2 separate regions of the Homo sapiens genome follow, and region 2 is linked to region 1. Evidence: promoter capture Hi-C in 16 types of primary human blood cells and fetal thymus (Javierre and others, 2016). All regions are on one chromosome and are shown on one strand. The core of a region is centred on a gene start or on the middle of the fragment in contact, and the rest is flanking DNA. Distances in the headings are between cores, read along the strand shown.

Region 1 (3,074 bases), core at 174-2,673:
GGCTCCCCGTAGGGCGAAGGGGTGCGCTGTCAGATGTGGCATTCCCGTTTTACGGAGACACACGGTGTCTTACACGCCAGGGAGAGGTCTGAGACGCAAAGAGCCGTCGAGCGGGCTGCGGGATTGCTTCGCTGTCACCTCCGCCTGCAGCCACCCTTCCGCACGCACTTGTGTGTGCACCCAGGCCAACATGGAAGGCGCCATCCTAACTTCTGCCGTGAGCAGGTGGGAGGGAAGAGAGACGAGAGGTATTCCATTGGTTGTCTGGGAAAATGAATTGCACCTTCCCCTCCCTTGCGGAGGATCAACTTTTCCCACCCCCTCGGGTGGGCACTCGCATCCTGGGGCCGGAGCCTGAACCCGGGAGCCAAGGGGCCCCAGTTCCAGGGACGTGAAGCTGAGCGTACAGCGGGCGCTCCCAGACACTGGGGAAAGTGCTTTACGATGTCCCGAGTCCCTCCAGTCTCGCCAGCGGGGCGAGCGTGAGGGTGCCCCGACCGACCAGCGGCCCCGGGTGCAGGGTGGCGGGCCCGGCGGCGCGCGTCCCCCTCCCCCTCCTGGCGGCCCGCACGTGTCGCCCGCGCCGCGCCCCCACGGGTTACGCGCGGGTCCCGCAGCGCCGCGGCCGAGCCGGGCTGCCCGGCCCGCGGACACAGCGCCGGCCGCCGCATCCCGTGCGGGGCCGCGGCGCGATGCTGCGCTGGAATGAGGAAGCGCGGCGGCGAGGGGAGGGCCCGGGCGCGGTGCGCGCGGGGGTGGCGGCGGCGCGCCGAGCGGGCCCGGCGCGGGCGAGCGGGCTGCAGCCGGCGGCGGCGCCAGCAGGTACGGCCCGCACCCGCCGCCGCCCCGGCGGCCTTTGGGGGCTGAGCCGGAGCCCGGCGCGATTGCAAAGTTTTCGTGCGCGGCCCCTCTGGCCCGGAGTTGCGGCTGAGACGCGCGCCGCGCGAGCCGGGGGACTCGGCGACGGGGCGGGGACGGGACGACGCACCCTCTCCGTGTCCCGCTCTGCGCCCTTCTGCGCGCCCCGCTCCCTGTACCGGAGCAGCGATCCGGGAGGCGGCCGAGAGGTGCGCGCGGGGCCGAGCCGGCTGCGGGGCAGGTCGAGCAGGGACCGCCAGCGTGCGTCACCCCAAAGTTTGCGGGGTGGCAGGGCGCGCGCTCTGGCCACCCGCCGCTCTGGGCGGCAGCTGGTGGCAACGCAAGGGCGCGGCGGGGGCGGCCGGCGCGGAGGGGGCCAGGTACGGGGCCCGCGGGCGGCGCTGTGCGCGCGGGGCAGCCGGTCGGCCGGGAGCGCGAAAGCCTGGTCTGAGCCGGCTGGGGGCGGGGAGTGTGGCGGAGAAATGGGGAACAATGCGAGTGAGCAACTTCAGGAAGTCATTGTGAAAGAAAGCTGGGAAGAGCTCCGCGGCCAAGTTAGCAGGACACTCTAACAAGTGACTGCGCGGCCCGCGCCCGGGGCGGTGACTGCGGCAAGCCCCCTGGGTCCCCGCGCGGCGCATCCCAGCCTGGGCGGGACGCTCGGCCGCGGCGAGGCGGGCAAGCCTGGCAGGGCAGAGGGAGCCCCGGCTCCGAGGTTGCTCTTCGCACCCGAGGATCAGTCTTGGCCCCAAAGCGCGACGCACAAATCCACGTGAGTGTTTTCAAATTGAATTTCAATAGGAAAACTTGGGGTAACTGGTGAATTTAAAAAAAAAAAAACACAGTAAAGAAAAGCGGTAAGGTTGGTAGACCCTGGTGTCGCTCAGGTCCGCCTCTCTTTTCTGAGGACAGTGAGAGAGTTCACTTCTGTCAAGCGTCTGTTGCTCTGCACTGTGCCAGCAGGTGCAGGACCAGGCCGACATGGGACACTTCTGAGCAGCCCCGCTGTCACCAGGAGAGGAGTTCTAGCTCCCAACCATATTTAAATTTATGTAGACCTACATATACCCACGGAAGTCAGCCTTTATAAAGTCGTGTGTAAAGAGTTTTCCTTATATTTGAGCCGGGAGCTTTCTTTTTATACTATAAATATGATGAGATCGAGTCTGAACTTAATTTCTGCAAGAGAGGAATTATCCCGGCTTTGAAAAGTTAGTCCTTTTGCTGACCGCAGGTTTGACGCTCAAGTCACCAAACCTTCTCAGGAAAACCCTTAGTAATATTAAGGCATCAGGTTACTTGCGGTTATATTTGAAATGTATTTTAAATATTTGTCAAGCATCGCTGCTGATGCCTAAGGAACCTCGTGAGGGCTTGTTTTTCCTTCTAATTTGGAGGCATCTAATGACCGAAAACCGTAGCGATTCCATAGGGTCTGACCAGGCACAGCTTTCAAATGCAGCTTCCCTCTCTCTAGGGACTGCAGCCCACCCAGACTGAATTTCAATGCGGTGCGCTTTGCTTAGGTTACCCACTCACAATTTCCCACTGCGCCGCAGGCAGTATATTTCAGCTTTGAGATACCTTGTTTTAAAATTCCAGACAAAATGGTGTTGAGGAAATGTCTCCTTACTAGTCCCATCAACTTCTGTTAAAAGAGGAAAATTTATGGAATTTGAAAATACTGCGTATGATATTTAAACTTTCATAGACATTCAAATGCTTTTAAGGCCAGGTTCAATTTGGTTATGAGTCGAGGGGTGGGGGGGACCCACATAGAAATGTCCTGGGTCCTCTTGAGTTTATTTCTTTGTTTGAAGATGTTTGTTCAATGAGTTTTATTGTACTCATCTTTTATATGGAATTTTAAAAAGTAACAATTTCAGTATTATTTATATTAGAATGTGTCAGAATTATTTCCGTGACAAATCAGATCATTTGGGCTATGGCTTAAAATGTACACGAGGCAAATATTCATGACAAGAAGATTCACCTTCTTACGCTGGCATCTTGTAAAATGCAGAACAAGTTAAAGAAATAATGTGTACACATACAAATAATGATGTCACATTAAAAATACTACACTATTCTTGCTTGATGGAATGTATCTGATTTCCAATTTCACCATGAACATATTTCATACATTTTTTACATGAAAAAAAACGTGACTCTTAAGTCTCACAGTCAATCAGAGCTGGTGACCAGAACATTTTATT
Region 2 (2,974 bases), core at 267-2,766, 2.6 Mb before region 1:
GAGGTCAGGAGTTCGAGACCAGCCTGGCCAACATGGTGAAGCCACGTCTCTACTAAAATTACAAAAATTAGCTGGGCATGTGGCGGGTGCCTGTAATCCCAGCTACTCAGGAGACTGAGACAGGAGAATCACTTGAACCCGGGAGGCAGAGGTTGCAGTGAGCCGAGATCGCACCACTGCACTCCAGCCTGGGCAAGAGAGTGAGACCTTGTCTTTAAAAAAAAAAAAATTAATACACTTTATTTTCTATAACAGTTTTAGTTTTACAGAAAAATTGAGCAGATGGTACAGAAAGTTCCCATATTGCTCCTGCCCAACAGCTGCCTTTTTATCAACACCCTCCACCAGAGTGAGGCTTTCGTTATAACTGACGGATCTGCACTGACCCATCCTTAACACTCAAGGTCCATGGTTTACTTTAGGGTCTGTTCTTGGTGTTGTATATTCTATTGGTTTTAACAAATGTGTAATGTCATGCACTCACCATTAGAGTATATCATACGGTAGTTTCACTGCCCTAAAAGTCCCCTCTGCGCCACCTATTTATCCCTCCCCCAAACCCCTAATCTTTTTATTGTCTTCATAGTTTTGCCTTTTCCAAAACGTCACAGAGCTGGAATCATACAGTATGTAGCCTGTTCAGATGGACTTCTTTCACTCTGCAGTATGCATCTGGGGTTCCTCTGTGTCTCTTCTTGGCTTGATAGTTTCTTTCCTTTTAGCGCTGAATAATATTTTATTGTCTAGATGGACTATAGTTTATGTATCCATTCACTTACTGAAGGACATCTTGGCTGCTTCCAAATTTTGGCAATTATAGATAAAACTGCTGTAAACATCTGTGTACAGGTTTTTAGGTTTTCAGCTCTTTTGGGTAAATGCCAAGAAGCTCAATTGCTAGATCGCATGACAAGAATATGCTTAGTTTTGTAAGAAATCACCTTAGAAACTGCCTATCCATGAAATTGCAAAGAAGGTAAAAGAAGTTTGTGCTAGCTTTGCTGTTGTGCTTCAGACTGCAACAGTTGCAGCCACAGTGTGTGATATATTAAGATTGGAAAGGCATCACATTTGCCCGTGGAAGACTTAAACAGAAACTTGTTACAATTTTTTTTTTTTTTTTTTTTGGTGGGGGACAGAGTCTCACTCTGTTACCCAGGCTGGAGTACAGTGGTGCAATCTCAGCTCACTGCAATCTCTGCCTCTCCGGTTCAAGTGATTCTCCTGCCTCAGCCTCCCCAGTAGCAGAGATTACAGGCACATGCCACCACATCTGGCTAATTTTTGTATTTTTAGTGGAGACAGGGTTTTGCTACGTTGACCAGGCTGGTCTTGAACTCCTGACCTCAAGTCATCTGCCTGCCTTGGCCTCCCAAAGTGCTGGGATTACAGGGGTGAGCCACCTCACCCAGCTAACATGTTACAATTAACAGCAATTCCGTTTGGTATCATCTGTAGTTTCAGGATGGGGGGAGGGGGGCTTGGATAAGAGCTTGGATAAGACTGTCAATGCCAGGAGACATAGTCGTGTGTCCCTTAATGATAAGGATATGTTCCGAGAAGTGCATTGTTAGATGATTTCATCATTGCGTATATGTCAGAGTGGACTTATACAAAACTAGATGGACTAGCCTACAACACACTCATGCTGTATGGTATGGCCTATTGCTCCTAGGCTACACACCTGTGCAGCCTGTACTATACTGAATACTGAAGGCAACTGTAACACAATGGGAAGTATTTGTGCATCTAAATATATCTGAACATAGAAAAGCTGCAGTAAAAATATAGCATACAAGATAAAAAATGGTACATCTGTGTAGGGCACTTCCCAGGAATGGAGCTTGCAGGACTGGAAGTTGCTCTTGGTGAGTCAATGAGTAGGTGGTGAGTGAATGTGAAGGCCTAGGCCATTACTATGCACTACTACACACTTTATAAACACTTAGGCTACACTAAACTCATTAAAAAATACTTTTCTTTCTTTAATAATAAATTAAGCTCAGTTTACTGTAACCTTTTTACTTCATAAACTTTTTGATTTTTTAAACTTTTTTTTTTTTGAGATGAAGTCTCATTCTGTCTCCCAGGCTGGAGTGCAGTGGGGCAATCTCAACTCACTGCAGCCTGTGCCTCGTGGGCTCAAGGGATTCTCCTGCTGGGATTATAGGCACTCGCCACCATGCCTGGCTTTTTTTTTTTTTTTTTTTTTTTCTGAGACGGAGTCTCCCTCTGTCGCCCAGGCTGGAGTGCAGTGGCACGATCTCGGCTCACTGCAACCTCTACCCTCCGAGTTCAAGCGATTCTCCTGCCTCAGCCTCCTGAGTTGCTGGGATTACAGGCGCCTGCCACCTCGCCTGGCTAATTTTTTTGTATTTTTAGTAGAGACAGTGTTTCACCATCTCAGCCAGGCTGGTCTTGAACTCCTGACTTTGTGATCCACCTGCCTCTGCCTCCCAAAGTGCTGGGATCACAGGCATGAGTGACTGCACCCGGCCAATTTTTGTATTTTTAGTAGAGACAGGGTTTCACCATGGCCAGGCTGGTCTTGAACTCCTGACCTCAAGTGATCCACCCGCCTCGGCCTTCTAAAGTGCTGGGATTGCAGGTGTGAGCCACCACACCTGGCCTGGTTTTTTAAACGTTTTGATGCTTTTGTAATAACACTTAGCCCAAGACACAAACACATTGCATAGCTGTACAAAAATATTTTTTTCTTTATATCCTTATTCTGTAAGTTTTTTTTTCTATTTCTGTTTCTAGTTATTTACTTATTTATTTTTTACTTTCTAAAGTTTTATGTTAAAAATGAAGACAAAAACACACATATTAGCCTGGGCCTACACAGGGTAAGGAGCATCAATGTCACGGTCCTTTACCTCCACGTCTTGTCCCACAGGAAGGTCTTCAGGGACTAACACACATGGAGCTGTCGTTTCCTGCAATAGCAGTGTCTCCTTCGATACCTCCTGAA

The links. Contacts are between HindIII fragments. The CHiCAGO score rates a contact against its expected background, and 5 or more counts as called.
Region 2: a fragment that was not itself captured here is called in contact with the fragment with the promoter of IKZF1 in region 1 in 1 of 17 cell types (total B cells); the score reaches 5.8 in total B cells.

Annotation. Positions count from the first base shown.
Region 1 is chr7:50,303,293-50,306,366 of GRCh38, forward strand. IKZF1 (IKAROS family zinc finger 1) reads left to right here and starts at 1,424. Exons shown (of 8, transcript NM_006060.6): 1 at 1,424-1,630. RefSeq lists a silencer at 737-1,536. The HindIII fragment of the contact is 6,071 bases long and covers 1-3,074 here.
Region 2 is chr7:47,684,447-47,687,420 of GRCh38, forward strand. No RefSeq gene overlaps it. Among named protein-coding and RNA genes, the nearest start is that of LINC02902, 31 kb to the left of the region's middle. The HindIII fragment of the contact is 4,190 bases long and covers 1-2,974 here.